Regions from separate parts of the Homo sapiens genome. Here region 2 is linked to region 1. Evidence: promoter capture Hi-C in human tissues and cell types (Jung and others, 2019). All regions are on one chromosome and are shown on one strand. The core of a region is centred on a gene start or on the middle of the fragment in contact, and the rest is flanking DNA. Distances in the headings are between cores, read along the strand shown.

Evidence for each region. The method cuts DNA at HindIII sites, captures the fragments that hold promoters and counts their contacts. A contact is called where the count stands out against the background at its distance.
Region 2: a contact is called between a fragment that was not itself captured here and the fragment with the promoter of GNB4 in region 1, in 1 of the 25 tissues and cell types used here (pancreas).

What each region holds. Positions count from the first base shown.
Region 1 is chr3:179,448,224-179,453,715 of GRCh38, reverse strand. It overlaps GNB4 (G protein subunit beta 4), which reads left to right and starts at 2,246. Exons shown (of 10, transcript NM_021629.4): 1 at 2,246-2,370. It also overlaps the pseudogene RPL29P34. RefSeq lists silencers at 2,076-2,225, 2,266-2,675. The HindIII fragment of the contact is 18,692 bases long and covers 1-5,492 here.
Region 2 is chr3:179,660,369-179,665,860 of GRCh38, reverse strand. The region is part of intron 1 of USP13 (ubiquitin specific peptidase 13); the gene reads right to left. Among named protein-coding and RNA genes, the nearest start is that of USP13, 10 kb to the right of the region's middle. The HindIII fragment of the contact is 3,863 bases long and covers 750-4,612 here.

The DNA.
Region 1 (5,492 bases), core at 997-3,496:
AATTTTCAGGAAGATTGACGATATCATTCTTTTAAACTCTTTAAAAGACAGTCAAATTCTTGTTACATCTTTTCAGGTTTTGTATTTTATGTTTAGGAGCTGTTCATTTATATTTCCCCTCATCTTTTCTGGAATAGACTATCTCATTGCTTCCCACTGTGTTTTCCTAAATACCAGCAACTTGTTTTTCAACAAATAATCTTAACCCAACAACCAGCTCTCAAAGCTTTATAACATCTGGTAAATGCTAGTGCACAGGAACAAGGCAGAAAAGAATCTAAAGAAAGAATATGGGGCCGGGATCGGTGGCTCACGCCTGTAATTCCAGCACTTTGGGAGGCCGAGGTGGGCGGATCACCTGAGGTCAGCAGATTGAGACCAGCCTGGTCAACACGGTGAAACCCCGTGTCTACTAAAAATACAAAAAATCAGCCGGGCGTGGTGGCTTGTGCCTGTAATCCCAGACTTGGGAGGCTGAGACACGAGAATCGCTTGAATCCTGGAGGTGGAGGTTGCAGTGAGCTGACATCACATCACTGCACAGTGACTCCGTCTCAAAACAAAAAAACAAACAAAAAAAAGAAAGAATGTGGGCTTTGGAGTTGATCCAATCTGATGTCATGCAGGGCTCTACCAATACCTTCGTGACTCCGATAAATTAATCTTACCAGGGCATCAGTTTGCTTATCTGTAAAATGGGGATAAAATTCACACTTCAAGGTAATTATGAGGATTAAGTACAGTATAAGAAAGCAGAGAGCATGGTCCGTAATAGGCACTCTTTAACAATTTCCCTTTGCTTCCTCCGAAAAACGACAATCATAAAACTCAGGATTTAATCATTAAAACATAAATAGTTACAGATGCAAAACACTCATGTCCCAACGAGCTCTTCTGACACTTTGATATGCAGAATATTTGGCATTTCTTTCTTCTTAATGGAAAAATGCTCCTAATATTAGTAAAAATGAAAATTTTGGGGGAAAAATTATCCACAGTTTCTTTATCTGTGGATAAAGAAAATAGAAACAGCTGCTTCTATTTTTGTCACGGCCTGGCTTTTATACAAAACGGTCACATTTTCCCCACAGTCACAAACAGGGTGTGTTTATCATGGCATCACCTCTTTCAAGGGACTAATAGATTTATTCCAGGTGATAGTGGGAAGCAGCTACAGAAGGAGGATTGGAAGGCTGAGGGGTTGTTAAAGTTATCTGATGATATTGTTCGAACATTTCTCCGGCACAGAAACTCCACAAAGAACTCCTCTGCAGTTTTCGCTACCCAGGGCTGTTTCTTTAAATTGTTTGACGTCAGAGAAGGAATGCTATAGCAACAGTCTGTCAAACTGGAATTAACTCAGAAGAAAAATGGGGGTGGGGAGAGGAAAAATGCTCCCAGGCGGTACTGACTTCAGAGGAAGCAAATTGGATAGATGCATTTATTTTATGACATTTTAAACATAAAACACCCAGATAAATGTGAAAAAAAAAAAAACTCGATTGAGATGCATGTGGTGTTTAACTCATGCAGAGAAGAGCGACTTGGCAGGGATATCTGGAAGGCCTTCCAGTTTTATCAATGACAATAGGAACAATAACTTCCAAGTATTGGCCATTTATTTGGAGGCAGGCTTCGTGCAAACATCACTTCATTTAATATGCTTAGCACCTTTATGAGGCAGGTATCAGTATCTTTATTTTGGCGATGACGAAACTTAGGCCCGAGACGGTACACGGTCCTACAACTAGTGATGGAAGAGCGGGGACTGCAACGCAAGGTTGTGCAACTCTGGGCTTCAGTTTACTTTCTGACATTTAGAATTCCAGAATGGGAAACCTAAATGGGGCCTTTGGGGTCTTCTAGCTCTGCCCTTCGATCCTGCTAACAAGCAAACTGGCGCCTGTCAGCGCCGGAAAGGAAACTGGCCACGCCACTTAGACGGGCGCTACTTAGCAGCGTGCCCCGGCGCCACACCAACAAGAAAACGAAACTGCCCGGGAATGAATGTTTTTCTTCTCCTTCTGGCAGGAAACGAGAGAGAAAATAGGAAGCAGAAGCTGCGCGCGGCGCCCGCTCCCTTCGCCCCCCGCCCGGGCTGCGCGCGCTCCGAGGGTCTGCGCGTCCCCGGCACGTCCCCGCCGGGCCCGCGCGCCTCGTGCCTCGCGCCTCGCGCCTCCAGCCACGTCCCCGCCCCGGCTCCGGCGCGCCGCGGAGTTGGCTGCTGGGAGGTGCGGGACTGGGTGTGGCCGGCGGCTCTGGTCTCGGCTGTGAGCTGCGCTCTCCACGCCGGCTCCGCGCTCCAGGGGCTGCTGAGCGCCCAGCGGACACCGGCAGCGCGCGGTCGACGCGGGCCTGAGCTCCCTCCAGGTAGGCGGCGAGCTCGCGAGCGGCGGCTCGTCGGTGCGCCCCGCGAAGCGATCCCGGGCTTCTCGCAGGGACGTGGGGCGCCGCGAGCCACCCCTGCGGAACGGGGCCCGGGTGACGGCGCGGGGCGGGGCGGGTCTCCCCGGGCTCGGGCGGCCGACGCTGCCCGGGAGGGACGAGGAGGGCGCGCCTGTGTCGCGCCCAGCTGCCACGCGGGAACTGGCCCCACGACCGCCGGCGCAGGCACTTCCCGGGCGGTCCAGACCGCTCGCCCCGGGGAGCGAGGAACGGTCGGCGGTCCAAGTCCTGCAGACCCCCCTGGTTTCTCGTCACTCCCCGAGGCCTCCTTCCAGGAACTCAGAGCACGAGCCCGTGCGTGCCCCCAAAATAACGGGTATTCGGGACTGCCCAGCAGGGCTGTTGGGTGGAGAGTGCTTGGAAGACTCATAAAAGTTCTACGCTGAGTCCAAAATTAGTCCAATGGTTTTGTTTCAGATTTATTTTGGAAATGATATAATGTCCAGAGTTTGGGGATGGGAGGGGATTGATGAATTTTGAATACTTGTGAGTTCAGTACAATAAAAAGTGTTTTGCTTTTCTCTCCACCTTTTTCTGCTTCAGAACACAGATGATTGCCATATACTTTGATATGTATTGCTATTCGCTAAGGGAACGTTGAATTTTCAAAAGTTTGAAACCAGGCTTTCATTTGTTTATACAAGCAATACTTTGTTATTTTTCGTCTCCTTGTGTTCCCTTTTCTCCCACTCCTTCCCTTTCTCTTTCCATAAAGGATAAGGATGCATCTTTCTCCCTCTCAGCCACCGACAAAGTAGCTTGGCGTGTGGCTTAGCGGGAAGTTTTCTTAAAACGTTCAAAATTTAATTGTTGATTAGAACTTTTATTATGAGTCCGTCTCAGTGTTGCAAACAGAGTTTATGACCATTAAGTACATCTTCTAGGACAGAGACAGAACACACGCTACTTAATTTAAGATGGGAGGGAAGTTATTTCTAGTCGGAGAGGAGGACGGCTGATTAGGTGCATTCAAAATTGTGTGCTTCGAGTCTCTGCCATTGTTCATTTTAATACTCTTCAGTTTGGGGCTTTTGGTTTACTACTGATCCTAGGCTCTGAAAATTTACTGTATATTTCAGTATGTGGCTTAAAGACATTTTAAGATTTTCCATGTTGCATTTTGGTTTGTAGATGAATTTGAAACTGAAATAGAAACTTTTAAAATATCATCTTATTGAACGTTGTCAACCCTCTGTATATACATTTATAAAACTGATTGATACAGCTTGTGATATTTTAGGTTGGTTCAACTCTTTGTGGGCCCATAAACATTATTTAGGAAGTTATTCCGAGTCTTTGGCCTTTGTTAACCTGTAGAATTGTTTCTTTTAAACAATTGGCATGTAAGTATGTCAGCACATACTTTTACACTTTAAAAATAGACTCTGGGGCAATTTGAAAATTAAGAATTGGAACTAAGTGTTGGACATTCTTCTGGCCTTACCAAATACTGCCTGAGATGGTGTGATTTCTCTTAGGCATGTTATTGAAGTCAGCTGGCTGTATCATCAGTTTCTTTACCTTGCTGACTATTTTAATCTGCGTCTGTTATGGACTTATTTATTAAAATATCTCTTCTGGGCTGGGGCAGTGCTGTAAGTTATTCTACTTATATCTCACAGTAACACCATTATCTACTTCCACAGGTAAGGAAATTGTCTGTGAGGTTTTAAGTAACTTGGCAGTGGTCATGTAGGTGTTAGGTAACTCAACTGGGATTCGAAGCAAGACCCCTCTGTTTCCAAAGTCCATGTTCTTTCCCCTGAGCCATATTAACTTAGTTCGAGGGCATGAGGAGTGACCCTCAATTACTCATTAGCATGTGTGTAAAATATCCAAGACATGCCAGAAGCATGTTTGTTTTTCCAGCATGATCATTATTGTCTGTCCCATGTTTTTATACAGCTTCTCACATCAGCCATTCTCTTCTCACCACTCTACTCCTAGTTAAATGTCTTGTTCCAAGTTCAAAACCTCCCTTTTGCCAGGGCACAGTGTATCCTATTGATATTAATAGGTAGTGATGGCTTAATTATCTTGATAAAACAGTAACTCCATTTTAATGTGGGTTCTCTAGAGATAGAGTTATAACTAATTTGGAAGGTTACAAACAGGATTGCGGTCAATTTTGGGATATGAGAACCCTTTGATATCCCTCAAATTAAACTAGAGGATATTTTGATGGATATTTCCCTCTGCAATTTATCATACTCTCTCCTGCACCTTCAATTTGTCAGTTACTACAGAATCATTTACATTATTGTACAGTCTGCCATTTTAAAATAAAATGGTTTCTTGATCCAGTGTTCTGCTTCAGTGACTGCCTCATTTCTTTTTATTTATTTATTTTTATAAATAGAAGCGGGATCTCGCTGTGTTGCCCAGGCTGGTCTTGAACTCTTGGGCTCAAGCAGTCCACCCACCTCAGCCTCCCAAAGTGTTAGGATTACAGGCGTGAGCCACGGCGTCTGGCCCTGCCTCATTTCTCTACCTCACCTTGAGGAAGCGTAGTTTTTTGACAGAACAAAAAATAAATACAGGAGTGAGAACCAGAAACTAATTAGTTACCTACAGGCACCGGGTAGGAACTGAGTAAATGGGAACAACAGAAGGAATGGCCTTGTTCTGAATGTACTTTTTTGCATAGTTTTGAGTTTTGGAAACTGTTAGTCTTTTTTATGTTCAAAAATAAAATTAACAAGATGTGGAGAGTGGGACTCCAAAACAATACAAACAGCAACAACAAACCGTGTATTTATGTGAATAATATAAACTCCCAGAAGAAAAAAAAAAAAACCAAGTAAGTTTTGAGCACAGGATTAAAGATTAAAGAACTGAAAAAATAATCTTGAACTCTGTGTAGTAGGCTATTATTTGTATGGTAGAGGTGTAGCAATTCTGAAACTATTTTGTGTGCATTATAGGATTGAGCAAATGAGTAAATTCATTGATATTTTGGGAACTAGGGTTTCCAACGTGGAAGAAGAGAAATGAAAACATGAAACAGGCCAGGCGCGGTGGCTCACACCTGTAATCCCAGCACTGGG
Region 2 (5,492 bases), core at 1,432-3,931, 210 kb before region 1:
TAATCCCAGCACTTTGAGAAGCCAAGGCAGGCAGATCACTTGAGGTCAGGAGTTCAAGAATGCCCTGGCCAACATGGAGAAACCCTGCCTCTACTAAAAATACAAAAATTAGCTGGGCATGGTGGTGCATGCCTGTGGTCCCAGCTACTCAGGAGACTGAGGCACAAGAATCACTGGAATCGAGGAGGCGGAGGTGGCAGTGAGCCGAGATCACACCACTGCACTCCAGCCTGGGCAACACAGCAAGACTCTGTCTCAAAAAAAAGAAAAGCCTTAAATATCCTATAAGTGCTGCAGGGTCTAACTTCATGACTCATCAGGGCTTAAAGACCACCTCTGTCATGAAGCCATCTTTGAACAAATCCTTGAACAAATTACCTAACCTCTCTGACTCTCCATTTCCTCATCCGTAAAACAGGGGCAAAATCGTAACTATAACATGTAAGCCAATTACTATCATAATTAAATGAGATGACGTACATAAAAGTGCCTGGCATAGTGTTTGACTCATAATAGACACTTGACGGATTGGAGTTAGCTCAAGCGGTTATGTCCTCATGCCAGACTTTCCATAATAGACACTTGAAATTAGCATACACACTCCACTACGATAGAGATCCTGCCATGGTCCTCTGTTTCCCTCCCACTTACACCCTCTCTACCCCTATAATACCAACTGCAGTGCAGAGTGCACAGGAAGCCATAAGTCAGTATTAACACTTGTTAACTAACACAAAGCAGAATGTTTCCTTTTTAATCTTTTTTTTTTCTTTTGAGACAAGGTCTCACTCTGTTGCCCAGGCTGGAGTGCAATGGCGCGATCTTGGCTCACTGCACCTCCGCCTCCTGGGTTTAAGCGATTCTCCTGCCTCAGCCTCCTGAGTAGCTGGGATTACAGGCACCTGCCACCATGCCAGGCTAAGTTTTGTATTTTTAGTAGAGACGGAGTTTCACCATGTTGGCCAGGCTGATCTTGAACTCCTGACCTCAGGTGATCCGCCCACCTCAGCCTCCCAAAGTGCTGGGATTACAGGTGTGAGCCACCACGCACCATCTTTCCTTTTTAATCTTACCACATGAGGCACATACTATCTTGCACCTCAAGCAACATCTCTGTCCAGAGGCGTATTCAGATTCATTAAATTCTTGTCATTGTTACATTGTCCTGTTGTTCTAGCCCTAAAAATAGGTGTTCCTGTTCACATCTTCCCTGTGCCTGGGAACAAGGGGAGTCCTAACTGATCACCACAATACTGAACAGACCAGACAGAGGCCTGATCTGCAACCATAGATCCCAGTCCTCTTGTCATCTCCCTGAGGGGCCCAATGTGGGATCTTTTACCAAGCACCCTAGAATCACAACATATAAAACATTCAGCAAGTACTCGAGACACTTTTCCCTGGCTTTTCAAGGGTCAAACCTATGATGTTTCAGATAATAAGATAACATGAAAATATCATATTGGCGGCTGGGTGCGGTGGCTCATGCCTGTAATCCCAGCACTTTGGGAAGCCAAGGCAGGTGGATCATTTGAGGTCAGGAGTTTGAGACCAGCCTGACCAACATGGTGAAACCCCATCCCTAGTAAAAATACAAAAAAAATATCCGGGCATGGTGGTACACACCTGTAATCCCAGCTTGAACCCAGGAGGCAGAGGTTGCAGTGAGCCAAGATCATGCCACTGCACTCCAGCCTGAGCGACAGACCAAGACTCCAAAAAAAAAAAAACACACCCAGAAAATCAGAAAAGATGCAGGCTTAATGGCACAGGTTCACAAACTGTGTAGTTTTCAGTTCTCTACTCTTTTCCTTTTAATTCTCCAAGACCTCAGCTATTCCACATCCCCACAATCTGTATCCCACCCATGACAGAGATGTACAAAGTGAAGGCAAAGGAAAACAGATATCTAACTCAGCTTCTGAGGATGGGAGGAGTCCTCACAAAGAACATCTGAGCTGGCTTTAAAGGACGAACAGGGCTTTTCCAGGAGGATGAGGGTGAGAGAATGCATTCCAGGCCAACGCAAGAGCATGAGCAAGCACATGGAGGGGCAAGAGCATGGAGCACCTAGAGAATGGAAAGTCTTTTGGGACAGACAGAAAGTAAGCAGAGGGGCAGGAAAGCTGGATCAACAAGGTAAACTGAGGTGATGTGCCATGTTAGAAAAGTCTGAATGGCACCATTGAGGATTTCAAGGCGGGCAAATGAGATGATCAGACCCCTATTTTAAAAATATCCAAGAGTGTAGTGTGACAGACTGGAAGGGAAAGTAAGGTGGTTGTTAGGAAGCTTCTGCCACAGTCCAGGTGAGAAAGGATGAGGGCCCGAGCCTTAGCAGTGCAAGGGAGAGAGGAGGATATACCAGAATTTGGTGACTGATGGGATATGATGCTAAAAGAGACAGTGAGATAGCCATGTTCATGGCAGCACTATTCACAGGAGCCAAAAGGTGGAAGCAACCCAGTGTCCCTGACAGATGACTGGATAAACAAGATGCGGTATATACACACAATGGGATATTATCCTGCCTTACAAAGGAAGAAAATTGACACAACAACATGGATTAACCTTGAGGACATTATGCCAAGTGAAATGAATCAGTCAAAAAGGACAAATATTGCATGATTCCACTTGTATAAAGTACCTAGAGTGGCCAAATCTTAGAGACAAAAAGTTGAATGGTGGTTGTCAGAGGCTGAGAAAAGGGGAGAACAGGGAGTCATTGTTTAAAGGGTACAGAGTTTCTGTTTTGCAAGATGAAAAGAATTCTGAAGACAGACAGTGGTGATAACTGCAAAACAGTGTGAATGTACTCCAATGCCACTGAACTGTACATTTTAAAATGGTTAAGATGGTAAAGTTTATGTTATATGTATTTTATCACAACTTAAAAAATAAAAAGAGAGAGAGGGAGGTAGAATGGATGATACCATACACCTCTCAATCTGGGGCACTAAAATGGATGGCCGCTCCTTTAACTGAGCTCCAGTCCATAGGGAGAGGAATGCAGGGGAGGAAAAAGAGAATTCAGAGTTGCACAGATGTCCAGATCCAAAATGAGCAGAGAACATGAACTTTTCCAAAAAGTCTTTCTGACAGGATCAGCATCATCTCTCACATTCCAAAGCTCTAAAAATGGTACAACTTTAAAGGTAATGAACTACTGTCCAAAAGGGACAGCAAGTGACTTCTTGATTATGATTTTAGAAAAGCAGGATTTTAGGGTACACATGGCAAATGACACAAAGACATCCATTTCACTCCTTTCTGAAACCCCAATCAAAGGACAGCAAAGGGATTTTTTCAAGACATAAGCTATAGCACTAAAGTCTGGAAAGCTGGACGGCAGGTAAATGAATGCTAAAAGACTAAGATGGCAACAGAGCTGAATCCTAGGCCAGCAGCAGGGAAAGCCAAGATCCAACCTGATCTTCACCCCAGAATGCCCAAAAGACTCCAGAACTGGCAATTCAAGATAACTCTGGAAGATGGGGTGAAGTAGGAGCTAAAATAAAGAGAAAGGTTTTCTATGTAGCCGTCAGAGCCCCAAACCTCACCTCCACTCCAAGAGGCCCCTCCCTCTCCTGGCAAAGAACTAGAGAGTGATTCTCTAAAGCAGACAAAAACAAAGGTTTCAGCGCTGGGGAAGAATGAGCTTAGTTAAGAATAGAGGCACCATCACGAACATGGGGACTAAGAGAATGTATGTGTATCAGTCCAGATTTGGTCAGAAAATAGATGCTATTCAGGTATTACAGGCAGGAAGAGATTTGATACAGGAAATTAAAAGCTTAAAAAATCATGGAAAGGGCATGAGAGCCACAGTCAGAGAAATCACTGCCTATGTTCAGGAACTCAGGATGTACAAGCGTCACAAGAAACTGCACAGATGACGTCAGAATCCCCACCACTGAGGTAACTGTGTCCCAGAAGGACACTCAGATGCTGCTAGGAAAACCTCACATCGACCAGGTGCCACAGTTGCAATAGCAAAGTGGCTTCTCCTTCTCTTTTGCCTTCTAAATCTCTTACTGGAAAAATCAGTATCAGAATCTTGCCACCAAGGGACTCTGGGAAATGCAATGTCCAGGAGCCAGCCCCTGCAATGATGGGAGAAGCTTAGCAAAGCAGGGACACAGCTGAGAACCTACAGGCAATATCCAGCTGGTATCGAATACCCAGATGCTGAGACCACCTTCACCCTCCACTCCCACTCAGTTCCCTAAATACTGGTAGACAGGCCTGTATTTTCCAGGCAAGAGATTAGAATAGTCTCCTACCTGGTAGCCAAAGGAAGAAAAAAAAATCACACTAACATTTAAGCTTCCCCAAAGAAACAGCCCAGCCAGGTCACCCTACAATGAAACTCACAGTTCAGAGAATAAAAAAAAAAAAATCCTATCTATGAAATAGTAAATTCCCAGCTCAAGTAGCTCTAATTTTTTCAAAAAGTGTCAATCAAACTCTCTAAATTTTAATTTGCTTCAAAAAGAATGTGCATGCAACATATGACATCTATGGTTGAGCTAAAATTAAGATAATAATTTAATGTGAACCCATAGGCTACATTTCAGGTGAGGTAAGTGACTGGAATAAGTGGTTATATCTTCTTGCCTAAACTCTAGAACTTTGGTTTCCAAAGTAAGGCCTGGTAACCCTCTGACACCCCAGAGTCTTTAAGTAATTTGGGAGGTCAAAACTATTTTCATAACATGAAGTTACTTGCCTTTCTCTCTCTCATTCTCTCATAGCACACAGTGGCATTTTCCCAAGGCTACGTGACATGCAATGACATCATTTCAAAAGCCAATAGAATGTAATTGTTCAAATTGTTTTAAATTTTTCTCAGTTTTAACTTCTAATATGGTAAATAGCAACAGAAATCACACAAAAGCTTTTTGCGGTTCTCAAAAATAGTTAAAGAGTATAAAGAGGTCAAAAAGCTTGAGAATCACTGCTCGAGAACAACTTTTCAGCTAGTTGCTTTTGGAAGGAAGCTTTTGACATGTGAAACTAATAAGATTTACTTTAAGTTTATATCTTCAAAGTGGAAAAAAGTCTGTCTGCTCTGAAATTTTGCTTTACTACCTTGTATCAGTTTATCCATCAGGAGGAAGAGTTTTCCACAGAGATCCTAAATTAACTTTTTTTTCTCCCTACAAGTAAACATTATGATGGGAAGTCTCATTGACTGCAAGGCAACGTGCATAGTACAATGGTAAAATGCAGAGAATCTACAGGGACTCAAACAAATACTTGTACACCAACAACTGAAGCAGCTTTATTCACAACAGTCAAAAGGTAGAAACAACCCGATGTCCATTAACAGGTGAATGGACAAATAAAATGTAATACATGTACATATATATGATGGAATATTATTCAGCCTTAAGAAGGAAGGAAATTCTGATGCATGCTACAACACTGAACCTTGATAACATTATGCTAAATGAAATAAGCCAGACACGAAAGGACAAATACTGTGTGAT